Linked DNA regions of Homo sapiens: region 1 is linked to region 2. The links are contacts of gene promoters, found by promoter capture Hi-C in blood cells and fetal thymus (Javierre and others, 2016). All regions are on one chromosome and are shown on one strand. Each heading gives the region's core, a stretch centred on a gene start or on the middle of the fragment in contact. The rest is flanking DNA. Distances are from core to core; before and after follow the strand shown.

Evidence for each region. Contacts are between HindIII fragments. The CHiCAGO score rates a contact against its expected background, and 5 or more counts as called.
Region 1: a fragment that was not itself captured here is called in contact with the fragment with the promoter of GATD3 in region 2 in 10 of 17 cell types (naive CD8 T cells, naive B cells, total CD8 T cells and 7 more); the score reaches 9.5 in naive CD8 T cells.

The regions. Positions count from the first base shown.
Region 1 is chr21:44,482,345-44,489,518 of GRCh38, forward strand. It overlaps LINC02575 (long intergenic non-protein coding RNA 2575), which reads left to right and starts at 3,227. Exons shown (of 2, transcript NR_155204.1): 1 at 3,227-3,886. LOC124905037 (a long non-coding RNA gene) reads left to right here and starts at 657. Exons shown (of 2, transcript XR_007067904.1): 1 at 657-1,091; 2 at 2,090-2,355. The HindIII fragment of the contact is 3,872 bases long and covers 1,900-5,771 here.
Region 2 is chr21:44,131,086-44,138,176 of GRCh38, forward strand. It overlaps GATD3 (glutamine amidotransferase class 1 domain containing 3), which reads left to right and starts at 2,598. Exons shown (of 7, transcript NM_004649.8): 1 at 2,598-2,753; 2 at 3,017-3,069; 3 at 4,975-5,088; 4 at 6,092-6,211. The coding sequence starts at 2,613. PWP2 (PWP2 small subunit processome component) reads left to right here. Exons shown (of 21, transcript NM_005049.3): 21 at 1-96. RefSeq lists enhancers at 2,098-2,625, 2,626-3,153, 3,154-3,681 and a silencer at 6,974-7,091. The HindIII fragment of the contact is 13,325 bases long and covers 1,256-7,091 here.

The DNA of each region.
Region 1 (7,174 bases), core at 2,586-5,085, 350 kb after region 2:
AGGGAACCTGCTTAGCCTGATAGTGATAGTGATAGTGTCATACTTACGGGAAGCCAGCTCCCTCGACTTTTTCGTTTTTATCCCTCTATTTTTCTCGGGCTGGAGGGCATTGACACATTCATTTATTTATTTCTCAGAAAAGGCAACAGAGGTTCAGGGAGGCTAATGACTTGCCCAAGTTCACATTGCTAACCTACAACAGGGCTGAAGGGGATCATGTCTACGGTGGTCCATTTCCAAGACAAAGTGCCTTGAATCGGCTTAGGTCTGCAAAATACAGAAGAAACAGGATATCCCAGGCCCCTGCTCAGACAGCCGATGCCTGCTTATCGGGATCCCCCTTAGTTGCCCTCACCTGAACCAAAGAAGTTTAGTCTAAGATAAAAGTTTACCAGTCTGCAAAATAGCTGGCTTTGTCTGTTCTTATCAGCCTGCCAGCTACGTAGGTCATAAGTCAAATATTTAAAGAGCCCCAGGGCTAACTAGGATTGCAATGCACTGTGGGCTGCAACAAAATGCAGCAAGACAACCCTAAAAAGACACCTACAGCCCCTGCCCAACAACCAATAGGTGACATCTGGGAAGACTGTGACCCCATAGTGCTCAGCCTATGAGGAACTGGGGGAGGGACCTGCACACTAAGGGATAAAGTGCTTGTTAAAACCATGCTGGAGGCTGGTGCAGTGGCTCACGCCTGTAATCCCAGCACTTTAGGAGGCCGACGTGAGGCAGGCGGATCACTTGGGGTCAGGAGTTTGACACCAGCCTGGCCAACCTGGTAAAACCCCATCTCTATTGAAAACACGAAAATTAGCCAGGCGTGGTGGTGAGTGCCTGTGATCCCAGCTACTCAGGAGGCTGAGGCAGGAGGATCACTTGGACTCGGGAGGCAGAGTTACAGTGAGCCGAGATCCTGCCACCGCACTCCAGCCTGGGCGACAGAGAAAGACCCCATCTCAAAACAACAGCAACAACAACAAAACCGGGCTGGGCGTGCCTTCCCATCGGACACCCGACCTCGCAAGACTGTCATTAAAAGTCTCACTCTCGCTGTTCTCTGGGTTGTGAGTCCATTCTCTGGGTGTGGACAGGTGAGTTTGTTTCTCACAAGGTCCAGGACTTGAACTCAGGCCATGAGACCGGGCCAGGGTTGTGAGCAAAAGTGCAGCTCGTTGCGGTGCCTCCCTCGGCACCAGTGGGAGGGGAGAGGACCCTGGGGCTCGTCAGCCTGGACACGCCAGCGCTCTCAGCCGTCTCACTCAGTCCCACGAGCCCACACAGTGGCTGCCCTCAAAGGGACTTTGGAGACCACCCAGTCTTTCTTCCCAGTTTACAGACCCAGAGACTCGGGCCCAGAGAAGACAAGTGACTTTGAACAAAGCAAATTAGTGGCAATGCCCAGACTTGAACCGAGATTGGCAGAGCTTGGTGGTCTGCCACAAACCACCCTCCCCCACAGCAGGTGCGGGTGGGGGGCTCCGTTCTTCCGGTCACCACAGCATGTTACAGGTTTCTGCATCAGTGCGCCTCCTCTTAGGAAGAAACATCTCTGGGCTGGGATGGCTAGCTCCCCGCTTTCAGCCATGTAGAATTTCTCTTGGCATTTTAGTTAGAAGTGTTGTCTAGATTTCTTAAGTGTCTGAGGCTGCCCTGGCCACAGGGATGAGTTAGGGAAAATTACCGTTTCCCATGTGCGTGTGTGAAGCTCTCCATGCTCACTGAAGTCAGAGTGAGAAGCAGCAAACACGTCATCGGGAGGGTGGCCAGCAAGGCTGTGTCCTTTCACACGTCCTCAGATCATCCTTGAATCCACCCACATTCCAAATTCATTCTCAAAAATGAGATTCCAAATTTCAGGATCTATTTACAGCCAGACGATTTTGGTGCCCCCTGCTCAAAAGCTTTGATTACTCCTGTGCTTAATTAAGTCACAAATCCCTGGCCCATCATCCAAGACCACTTGTGATGTGGTTAAACCTACCTCTGTGAGTGCTAGTAAATCTACCTCTACTAGTACTAGTAAATCTACCTCTGCTAGCGCTAGTAAATTTACCTCTACCAGTACTGCCCCCCACTGTTTCCTTTTCAGGCATTCAGCTCAGTCTACGGCCCGCAGACAGATTTCCTAGAAATAACTGCTCCTACTTCTCAACTCTTAACAAAAAGGTCTCTGAAAAGGAATTTGGAGGAAACAGACTATTCCAGTGAATAGTGTACAAGCCTGGGAGATGCGGACTTTGGTGTAAAATGAAGGTGTGTTCAAAGAGCAAAGAAGGAGTTCGGGTTTTAGAGCAAAAAGCTCCTGCCCTGGGGTCCCCATTAGGTCCATGTAGGCAAATGAAGGATTGAAACGTGCTTAGTTCTGATTGGTTGGTACAGCTGGGCCCTGATGGGTTGGTTTCCAAGCCGCGAACCGGAAGTCTTTGTTAGCTGTTTCTTTCAAACAGTGGTGGGGGGCGTGAGGGGCGTGCGGGGCGTCGGGGGCGTGAGGGGCGTGCGGGGCGTGAGGGGCGTGAGGGGCGTGCGGGCGTGAGGGGCGTGAGGGGCGTGAGGGGCGTGAGGGGCGTGCGGGGCGTGAGGGGCGTGCGGGCGTGAGGGGCGTGCGGGGCGTGCGGGGCGTGCGGGGCGTGGGGGGCGTGCGGGCGGGGAGGAGGGTGGGGGCCGCTCTGGCTACAGTTTATCTTGGCACTAACAACGGGGACTGATTGGGCTTCGTTGTGAAAAGGGGGGCCCTGTGGTGCGTTTACAGAGTCTGAGAACACAGAGTTCGTGGCCACTCCCTCACCCAGCCCTGGGCACCAGGTTATGTTTTAAATTTGAGCACCTCAGCCATGGGGAACCCCTTTTGTTTGTCAGCCAGGGCATAGTTTACCAATCCCAAATCTGTAATCTCTCTCTTAACAAATCACTTTCTACCCAAATACAGATCCTTAAGGGCAGGGCCTCTGGTTCATTTTTGTCATCTCCACCTAGCGGAGAGCGCGGCACACGGCAATGATACGGGAGTGCGGGGGAAGGGAAGAGTGTGGTCCCTTTAAATGATACAGAAGGGAGGTGCTGGGTAGAGGGGGGCGTGGTCCCCGGCTAGGGCTCCACCCCCCCGGACCTGGGTGAGGACAGGCACTTCTGCCTTCTTGCCCCAATGTTGCATTTTCCAAGACCACCCTGGCCCGCCATGCCCCCATTCTGAGCCTATAAAAACCCGAGACCCTAGCAGGGCAGAGGCAGAAACTGCTGGATGCTGAGAGGAACGCATCAGTGGAAGAAAACAAGCGGCTGGACGTGGAGAGGACGTCAAGGGAGCATGCCGGCGGAAGAGCACACCACAGACGCCGGCAGGCCACCGAGCGGCAGGACCAGGCGGAGTTTGGCCGGGGCAGTCGGAGGAGAGCTAGGCCACTAAGCAGCTCAACTCCAGGAGATAAACCATCTCCCTTGTGGCTCCTCCGTCGGCTGAGAGCTGCTTCCACTCAATAACACTTTGCACTCGTTCTCCAAGCCCCCGTGTGATCCGATTCTTCTGGTACACCCAGGCAAGAACCCAGGATACAGAAAGGCCTCGGTCCTTTCCACAAGTACCTCTACTTGAGGTACTCATTGACCTGGTTAACACAAGCTGCCTACAGACGCCAAAACTAAGGGCACCCTGGAACACAGGCTTCAGCTGTAAACATTCACCCCTGGGCACTGCCGTGGGGTGGGAGCCTGCCTGAGTGTATGCTCCCCTAGAGGTTTGAGCTGCGGGGCACTGAAGAAGTGAGCCACACTCCCATCGCACACTGCGAGGGGGACAAAGGAACTTTTCCTCTTTTAACTGGGGCCTCATCTGGAATCTCGGAAGGTGAATGTCTGCCTTCGAAAACCCTACCACCTGTCTTTCTTGTGGGTAAGAGGCTGTTTTCCTTTCATCTCTTTTTTCTCTCTCACACGGTTTAAAAATGGCTCTTATCTCCTTTATAATGTTAAGAGTTTTGCTACAGGCTGCGGCAATGTTACTAAGTAGAATGAGTATTTGGCTCAGCCGCCAAAGGTGCAAATCAGACCAATTTTTCCTAGAGGTGCCATGTATGCCTCTACCTCGAGAGCCGCAGGCACACACGGCTCTGGGCACCTCTCCTTATTCTTCCCCTTCCCAGCTCGGGCACCTGGGCGTGCCCACGGCAGGCAAAGGCCAAGCCCAACAGCCACGAACCGGGCGGGAGGAAGCCGAGGGGGTAGCCGGGACCCTACAGGGAGCGCGTTGGTCAAGTGTGCCAAGGGAACCTTTCCTCCCCTGGCCAAGGAATTCAACCTGGTCTGAACTGGGGAAAGGATGGGAAAGTTATAAGAATTAGAGGGACGCAGTTGCACTAAGCAAGGGGTTCTTCCCCCAGAATCTCCCCCCTTTTTGCCCCTTAAACTGTTTTTCTCCTTTTTCCTTTTTTTTATTATTATTATACTTTAAGTTTTAGGGTACATGTGCACAATGTGCAGGTTAGTTACATATGTATACATGTGCCATGCTGGTGCACTGCACCCACTAACTCATCATCTAGCATTAGGTATATCTCCCAATGCTATCCCCCCCTCCCCCCACCCCACAACAGTCCCCAGAGTGTGATGTTCCCCTTCCTGTGTCCATGTGTTCTCATTGTTCAGTTCCCACCTGAGTGAGAATATGTGGTGTTTGGTTTTTTGTTCTTGCGATAGTTTACTGAGAATGATGATTTCCAATTTCATCCATGTCCCTACAAAGGACATGAACTCATCATTTTTTATGGCTGCATAGTATTCCATGGTGTATATGTGCCACATTTTCTTAATCCAGTCTATCATTGTTGGACATTTGGGTTGGTTCCAAGTCTTTGCTATTGTGAATAGTGCCACAATAAACATACGTGTGCATGTGTCTTTATAGCAGCATGATTTATAGTCCTTTGGGTATATACCCAGTAATGGGATGGCTGGGTCAAATGGTATTTCCAGTTCTAGATCCCTGAGGAATCGCCACACTGACTTCCACAATGGTTGAACTAGTTTACAGTCCCACCAACAGTGTAAAAGTGTTCCTATTTCTCCACATCCTCTCCAGCACCTGTTGTTTCCTGACTTTTTAATGATTGCCATTCTAACTGGTGTGAGATGGTATCTCATTGCGGTTTTGATTTGCATTTCTCTGATGGTCGGTGATGGTGAGCATTTTTTCATGTGTTTTTTTGGCTGCATAAATATCTTCTTTTGAGAAGTGTCTGTTCATGTCCTTTGCCCACTCTTTGATGGGGTTGTTTTTTTCTTGTACATTTGTTTGAGTTCATTGTAGATTCTGGATATTAGCTCTTTGTCAGATGAGTAGGTTGTGAAAATTTTCTCCCATTTTGTAGGTTGCCTGTTCCCTCTGATGGTAGTTTCTTTTGCTGTGCAGAAGCTCTTTAGCTTAATTAGATCCCATTTGTCAATTTTGGCTTTTGTTGCCATTGCTTTTGGTGTTTTAGACATGAAGTCCTTGCCCATGCCTATGTCCTGAATGGTAGGGCCTAGGTTTTCTTCTAGGGTTTTTATGGTTTTAGGTCTAACGTTTAAGTCTTTAATCCATCTTGAATTGATTTTTGTATCTTTTTTCCTTTTCTAAGTGAGAGGGCTCCCCTCCCAACTCTGTTTCTGATGGGGAAGTTAGCAGAGGACCAGCGACCCCTGCTGGCGGAGAGCTGCAAATTTGGCAGGGCACATTTGAGACACTCTCAACAGATAGAACCAGCCTCTAAAATATCTTTTCAGTCCCAAACTCGATTCCAAGCTTCAGGCTGAGGTCTTAGAAAGAAAAAACAGGTCTGAGGGATCCAAAGCCAGGGAACAGGCACAATGTAAATGGGTAGCACCAATTCCTGCTGACTAAACCCCCCACCCTATGGAAGGAGGCCATGCTTCATGGCATAAACAGGCCCAGGGAACTGAAGGTTTGCCGACAGCAGGGAGAAAGGGAGGCATAGGCAAGGGCGGTTCGTTCCTAGTCTCCAGGTTTTCCCTGCTTCATGGGTACATACCACATTAGTACCCATGGCTGGCACCTGCCAAGGTCGCCAGGGCTCAGGGATAAGGAGTGGAGACTGAAAGGATCATGCTCGCTTTCTCTCTCCATCACACCCTGAGTTTTCGCTGAAAGAAGGAAGAGAATGAGGGGCTTCTCTATTCACTGTCTCCAGTTCTCTTCAACACCCCCAGTTTATACTCCTCTGTAGTGTACCCTGAACCATCGGGACTGCTTTGACCCTCAGAATCTGCAGGAGAAACACCTCAGAGCCCTCTGCACAAAGGTTTGGCCAAATTATGAAGGACTGGGTTGGCCCTAGGAAGGAATCATTCATTTCCATACCATTCGGCTGTTGAGACTTTTCTGTAGATGTGAGGACAGATGGCCTGAGGCCCCGTATGTGCAGGGCCTTTCTATACCTTGCAAGGAAATCCAGACCTTGCCGACAGTGTAGGATTCATCCAGCCCTCCTGTTTGCCATCTCAGAGAAGGCTGCAAGGGGTAAGCCCAGGGAATTAAAGATACGAGTCCTAGAGGCACCCCGGAAAGAGAGGCCAGCTCCCTCAAGCCCTGCTCCTCTGGGTCCACCCCGACCTCCCTATCCAGCTTCAGCCTCTCACTTGGCCCCTCCTACAAATTCTCACTCTAAACAAGCCCCAGTCTCACTCTTGCTCCTCCAACAGATGCCTGGTGAATTTGGGCCAGCAAGGTCCAGGTCCCCTTCTCCTTACAGGACTTAAAGTAAATTAAGGGGGGATCTGGGCAAGTTTTCAGATGATCCTCATAGGTATATAGAGGCTTTCTAGAATTTCAACCAAATAGTTGAACTCTCCTGGAGAGAGACGTTATGTTACTTTTGAATCAGACTGTGATAGACACTGAGAAACAGGCCACTCTACAAGCTGCAGAGAGATTTGGGGATGAGCTTTGCATCACATGTAGCATCAGGAAAGGGGGTGAATATTATCCAACCGGAAGAGAAGCAGTACCAGTGAATGACCGTAAATGGGACCCCAATCATGAGATGGAAGCCGGGCGGAGGAGACACTTTCAGGTGTGCGTAATAGAAGGCTTACGTAAGACTAAGAACAAGTTGTCCATGATCAACCAGGAATTTGATGAAAATCCAATCGCCTTCTAGGAAAGGCTAAGAGAGGCCTTGGTAAA
Region 2 (7,091 bases), core at 1,348-3,847:
AAAGGTTTGATAAAGAACTTAGGGATTAAAAAAAAGATGGAGTTTTCTAACGTGAGGATGAAGTCTACACTTCAGATTAAAAAGGGTTATGTTGTATCCTGCTGTCTTGTGGGGGCTCAAGACCTGCCTGCCTTACCACCAGGGCCTCCGTCCTGGGGAAGCAGGCTGACAGAGCAGGGTGCTCCTGCTGTCTAGCGGGGGCTCTGCCTTGTGACCTGTGCATATCCTTGGGGTCAGGGGCACAGAGCCTCTCCCTGACCTCTTGGGGATGCTTTGGAGTCTGGGGCTGGGATTGGCCTGTCTTGGTGAGCTCACTCAGACCTGCACCAGCTCTGCGTGGGCCACACGGAGGAGGAGACAGCTCCTCCCCTCTGCAGTGCCCTTGGGAATAGTCATCATGAGAGAGGCTTGGGTCTCCATCATGGTAGGGCATCCTGGTCCCCACAGCTCAGTAACAGCAGCCTCCAGGGTCAGGACCTGAGGCTGACACTGAGGTGGGCACTTCACCGACTGCCAGTGCTGTCTGCCAGGCCCAGCCTGTCCCTCGCCAGCGGTGTGGCCCCCAAGACCCTGGGTAGTACCTGGCTCCCTTGCTTATCTGGGAAGTGGAGCTGATATCTGCCTGCCGGCCTCCCGGGGGTGGCGTGAGGCCAGATGTGCTAGAGAGTGGAGATGAATACGACAGGCAGTGCCTTGTGGCCCACAGCACTGTACCTGCAGGCCTGCAGACCAGAGGTCTTTGTAGAAGGGAGGAGCTCAGGCCCTGATGACACCAGGTGTTCTGTGGCTGCACAATCTCCGTGACCCAGACGAGAGAGAATCCTTAGCTATCGCCTACCCAAAGCACAAGTTCCAGTGTTCCCCTCCCTTGCCTCGCCCTTTTCCGTGAAACAATTTCCAGCGTTCCCCCTCCTCGCCTCACCCTTTTCTGTGTCACATGTGCATGGCGATGGACACCTGAGTAGTCGCCCCTGGGACAACTGGAGCTGCGGCTCTGCAGTGGGGTCTGGGAGCTCCCGGCCAGGGGCAGCTCCCGCACACTTGGTAGAGACAGGGTCCTGGCCCCCACACCGACTGAGTGAGAGTCTGCATTCGGCATTTCCTTTCTGAGTGGCGCTTGGTGTTTTTTTGTGCCATCCCACAACCCCATCGCTCCCACCAGCTGATGCTCCCTGGCTGGCCGCTCCCCAGGAGCTGAGAAGCCTGAAGAGGGCCAGGCACGGAGGAGCAGGAACGAGGACAGTCAAATGTGCCAAGCTTGTCTTTGGTTGTAACTGGTAATGTCCCATGTCTGTTATTCTAGTTCCCCACTATCTTGCAAGGATTGGCAGTAAAGTCCTAGTGATGGACAACGCGGCAGTGGGGAAAGTGACAGCCGTGGCTAGATCATCAGATGTGTCTGTAGAATCCGGTGTGTCCCTGTGAACATCCGCCAGCAGTAACCATTCACATTATTTCAAAAACCTGCATTATTAGGTTGAAAATGGGTAAATCGGGGAAAAAGCCAGCACTTATCCAGCTATTCCTCTGTGAACTAACCCATGCATAACAAACAGATTTTTTTAATGGAAGAATTCCAGCTAGGACCCGAGCAGCTGGGATCTTCACACTGACCGTCCATGCTGTGAACGTAAAAAACAAAAACAAAAAAACAAACCCAAACAGCGCCCGGGAATGGTGGCTCACGCCTGTAATCCCAGCACTTTGGGAGTCCGAGGCGGGCAGATCACCTGAGCTCGGGAGTTCAAGACCAGCCAGACCAACATGGAGAAACCCCGTCTCTACTAAAAATACAAAATTAGCCTGGCGTGGTGGCGCATGCCTGTAGTCCCAGCTACTTGGGAGGCTGAGGCAGAAGAGTCGCTTGAACCTGGGAGGCGGAGGTTGCGTTGAGCCGACTTCGCGCCATTGCACTCCAGCCCGGGCAACAAGAGGGAAACTCCGTCTCAAAAAAAAAAAAAAAAAAACCCAAACAGAATCGGCGGCTCACTTGCCCCCAGACTAACCCAGATCAAGCCCCTGGGTGGAACTGCAGTTTCCAGGATACAACATCCCGGGGTCAGTAAAACCCGGAGGGGTCGCTCCGTGGGAGCCGGAGCCGCGAGGAGACAGTCATGGAAGCGGAGGGGTAGTCCTGACCCCGCGTGGGTCCTGACGCCGAGATTAAGACGAGTGGCCATTTAGGAGGATGTGGACCCTGGACGCTCGTGGTGAGTTAAGGATGAGACGGAGGTAAGGTAAGAAGCGCCGGACTGAGCCGCCCCGAGGCAGCCTTGCTCTGCGGATGGCGGAAAGGGTGCGCCGCCTGTGGAGGCGTCCGATGGGGGCGGGGCTGGGGACCCCGGGAGTCACCAGCATCCCTCAGCCTCGAGCACGAGCCCTCAGCCACCACCGGAAGGAAGACAGGGTTCCCGGAACTCTATTCGGAGGCTCTGCGCAGGCGCGGCCCCCGCCCACCGGCGAACTCACTGGATAGGGCTGAGACGGGGGCGGGTCTTGGCTCCGCCCAGAAGGCTGCGCAGGCGCAGTCCCGACGAGCAACGCGTTTGTAGAGGGGTGGGTGCGCACGCTCTGTCCCTGCGTGACCTTCCGACCCCGCTGTCCTCACCGCAATGGCGGCTGTGAGGGTCCTGGTGGCCTCGAGGCTCGCTGCGGCATCTGCATTCACGTCCCTGTCCCCCGGCGGTCGGACGCCTTCCCAGCGCGCAGCCCTTCACCTCTCCGTGCCGCGCCCCGCGGCCAGGGTCGCGCTGGTGAGTGGACGGAGGGGGTGAGGTCAGCTCCCGCCTCCAGAGATCAGCCTTCGCTGTTCTCTGCCCAAGGTCGGCCCCTCTTCCTAGGTCCGCTCCCGCCGCCCCACGTCGGCTCCTTCACCCCAAGTCAGCTCCTGCGGCCCAGGTCGGCCCCATTTTCCCGGGTCAGCGCCCGCGGCCCAGGTCGGCCCCTTTCCCCCCAGTCAACTCCCGCCGCCCAGGTCGGCCCCTTTCCCCCGGGTCAGCTCCCGCTCCTCTCGCAGGTGCTGTCTGGATGCGGAGTCTACGATGGGACCGAGATCCACGAGGCCTCGGCGTAAGTCCTCAGGGGCAGCTGGTCCTCCACCCCGGGGGCCTCGAGAAGGCCTCTCCACCAGTGAAGTTTACTCTTTTTTGAACAGCTTAGAGAAAGCATGTATTTTATTTTATTTTTACTTTTTGTCTTTTGAGACAGCGCCCAGTCTGGAGTGCAATGGCGCGATCTTGGCTCACTGCGGCCTCCGCCTCCTGGGTTCAAGCGATTCTCCTGCCTCAGCCTTCCGAGTAGCTGGGACTACAAGCATGCACCACCACACCCAACTAATTTGTGTATTTTTGGTAGATACGGAGTTTCACCATGTTGGCCAGGCTGGTCTCAAACTCCTGACCTCAAGTGATCCTCCCGCTTTGGCCTCCCAAAGTGCTGGGATTACAGGCATGAGCCACTGCACCCGGCCGAGAGAGCTTGTATTTTAAATACCCTATTCTTGGCTAAAAAAAAGCAAAAACGACTTGCAAAACCCAGGGAGACGCTAAGAAAGAACAGTTTTTAAGTGTCGCTTATGCTGTCACCTAGAGCCTAGAAATGACTTAGCATTTCACTTGAGTGTTTTTCAGGACACACACATTTTGAAAACACTGAGATCACACTCACCCGTGTTTTGCAAATGTTTCTGACGCATGGGAAGTAATTCCCATTCATTCAGTTCTCAACATCATTTTAACAGTTGCGTGGTATTTCTGGGTCCTAGACAGGTTACTGTTTACGTAACTGGTCAGCTGTTGCTGAGTGCTTGGTGGCCTGATTTCCTGTGCTACTGGAAATGACTGCAGGCCGAACCAGTAGGGCAGGAGGCCACCACGCGTGCCAGGTACCTGTAGTTCCCATGTGGTTCAGGGTGAACTGGAGAGGGGAGAGCTGGGTGGTGGCGAAAGGGGTGTCAGGCCATGGAGAGTGGCCTGAGGCTGGTGGCTTTGTGGGTGGCCCACCTTGGCTGGTTGGAGTTGGCACTAGGCAGAGTGAGCTGGGGGAAAGGGCCAGGATGTGTTTCATGATTTGGCCTTGGTGGGATAGAAAATAGCCCCAGAATAGCTTGAGCCCTCCCAGGCAGAACGGCAGGGTCTTGTGTCTGGGGTGTCTGGGTGGATTTCTTATGGGTAGCGGAACCCAAGTGCCAGGGCCAGGTGCTGACCTCTCCCTCTGGCAAGTCACTGCACTTCATGCCTCGGTTTCCTCCTCCACGTAAGGGGCAGTGAGGGCTTAGTGTGTGGGTGGGCTTAGCCACCTATCTCCTGTTGGCACTGGGAGTTGCGGATGCCAGCGTGAGCCCCCATAATGTCAGCTGTTGTCCCCAGGAGGAGCTTCTGTTGCCCTTGCCCTTGGGGAGATGGAGCTGCCTGGCCTGTGGTGTTGTCCTGGGGTCTCTTGTGTCTCTCCCACCATCTGTGATGGGAAAGTTGAGGGAGACTAGAAATTGAACTAAGTAGTGACCGAAAGCCCCGTCACACCGTCTGTGCACGTGGCACTCTGAGCACACTGCTGCTTCTCACTCTTGGTGCTTGCAGCAAGCAACTGGAGGAGGGCAGCCAGGCCCTGGGTGTAGGTAGAGCACTCAGCAGCCGGGGACCCGCACGCCTCCAGGCTGTGCCCTCAGTGGAGTCACCCGGCCCCCATACCCCAGTTTGCAAAGGGAGCTGTTGGGACCAGCTGATCTCCATAGCCCACTTCTGAGGGTTTGTCATAGTCGTAACCCACCAACCGACAGTGAATTGGAATGGGGGTGTGGGGGACGTTTGGCTTGGTATGGAACCAACTGTAACTTTTTGCAGAGCAAGTAAGATATTAATATACATTAGGAATTTGCTCCTGGTACTTAGCTAAAATCCTGTTTTTAAAAATGTGTTAACACAAATCTGAGTGGGGCACGTTTTGAAGAGTTGTCTCTGGTTTTCCCCCGTGCAGGATCCTGGTGCACCTGAGCCGTGGAGGGGCTGAAGTCCAGATCTTTGCTCCTGACGTCCCTCAGATGCACGTGATTGACCACACCAAGGGGCAGCCGTCCGAAGGCGAGAGCAGGTGTGGGGGTGGGATTGGAACTTGCTTCTTGTCTACCTCCCACGGTGCAGCCTTTTTTTGCTGGCTTAGCTTAAACCAAGTCTTGTGTGCAAATGAACGTCCTTCTGAGCAGCTGTGCTCGGGCTGTTCCAGAAGTAATGCTGCCAAGGCTCAGGAGTGCCTTCCTTCCAGTACTCACAGAAGGACTGAAAATGGCGACCGGATCGCTTCCCACTGAGTCAGGCTGCTCATACCTTGGTCTTAAGCAAAGGTGGTGGTTCTCAGCTTGGTCGCCCACCTTCTTCCCCTGTCTGGGCTCCAGATCTGTTTTGCTGGTTCCCAGCAGCATGTCTGTTACTGCGGTGTGTGTGGTTCTGGCCTGTGTGGCCTGAGATCCCCTTCCCTTGCCTGTCCTGCCTGACAGCCCTGTGCAGGCCATTCCAAGGTGCCTTCCAACTGGCCTCGGACCACGAGAGGTCGGAGCTGGAGATTCGAGGAAGAAGCCATAGCTGCCTCCTGGGGCTGTGCTTCTCACCAGTGGGGACCCCTGTGATTTCTTTTCCTGCCTGGGACCCTGGCTTCTGCACCTGGACTTGCACCTTCGGCCCCCACACCTGGGGGCTAGCAGCTTCCTGCGGTGGCTGGCCTTCGGGTTGCTTCACTGGTCCTGAGTCCTGGCTTCTTACCTTCCCCTCTGAGTCCCACCGTCCTGATGAGTGCACAGAATTCTGTCTGCTTTAGACACTCGGAGAGACTTCCATTTCCCATGGGCCTTGACTGCAGAAGATTCAGAGTGATTTGGCGCAGGTTCTGAAGTGCTGATCGGAAGAGCCCAGCATAGATTTAGCGTTGCTAGAACCATGTTGTCTTTCCAGGTAGTGACCAAACATGCTGACCTGGAAGTAAGTCCCCGTGTGGCTGAGAGCCACGTGTGTGGAGCGTGTTGCCTGTGGGCTGTGCCCCTGCCGCGCTCCACAGTCCTTCACCTGCATGCTGAGGCTTTTTGCCCTGTGCTCTTTCCCAGGAATGTTTTGACCGAGTCTGCGAGGATCGCCCGTGGCAAAATCACAGACCTGGCCAACCTCAGTGCAGCCAACCATGATGCTGCCATCTTTCCAGGAGGCTTTGGAGCGGCTAAAAACCTGTGCGTATTTGAGCTCCAAGGTCTTCCGCTTTCCATGTGGAGCAGATGGGAAGGGGGTGCACCTGTCTGCTGTCCAATGTGGTCAGTGGAGCGGCGATGGGAGGGGGTGGTGATAGGAGCAGTCTCTGGGTTTAGGGTCTGGGCAGGGCACGTGCCTGCCCTCTGACTTGGGAGCTGTTCTTAGGGTTGGGTCTTAGGTAGCGTTGTAGCGAGCCATGCTTTTGTTTCTGCTTCTCTGCTGCCTCTTCTCTCAGCATTCCTGGTACCCAGCAGCTTGTCAGAGTGGGTTTGGGGCTCCCTCTTATCTCATCACTGTGCTGTAGGTCTCGTCACGTTGAAATCAGTCTCTGAGTATTTACTCCTTGCAAGTGCCAGTTTTTTTTCTCTCTCTCTCTCTTTTTTTTTTTTTTTTTCTGTAGAGATGAGGTCTTGGTCTGTTGCCCAGGCAGGGATGCAGTGGCACGATCCTAGTTCACTGCAGCCATGATCTCCTGGGCTCAAGCCATCCTCCAGCCTCATCCTCCTGAGTAGCCGAGACTATAGGCGCATGTCACCATGCCCATGGTTTTGTTTTTTTTTTTTTTTGGCCATGTATGTAGCCCAAATTGGTCTGGAACTTCTGGGCTCGAGTAACCCTCCTGCCTCCCAAAGTGCTGGGATTCCAGGCCTGAGCCACCGCGCCTGGCCCCAATTCTCTTATGGAACCTTGCAGGATCAGAAATGGGTTTCCTTCTTGGTAGTTTGGGCGGCGGTCCTGACAGGAAGAAGGGAGGCCGCCTTGGCGTGGCTGTTTTGGTAGCTGGACCGTGAATCATGGAGGCCTGGCTGGCTCCCACACGGTGGCGTCCTTGAGTTCCAGATCCTCTTTCTGTTCTCTGTG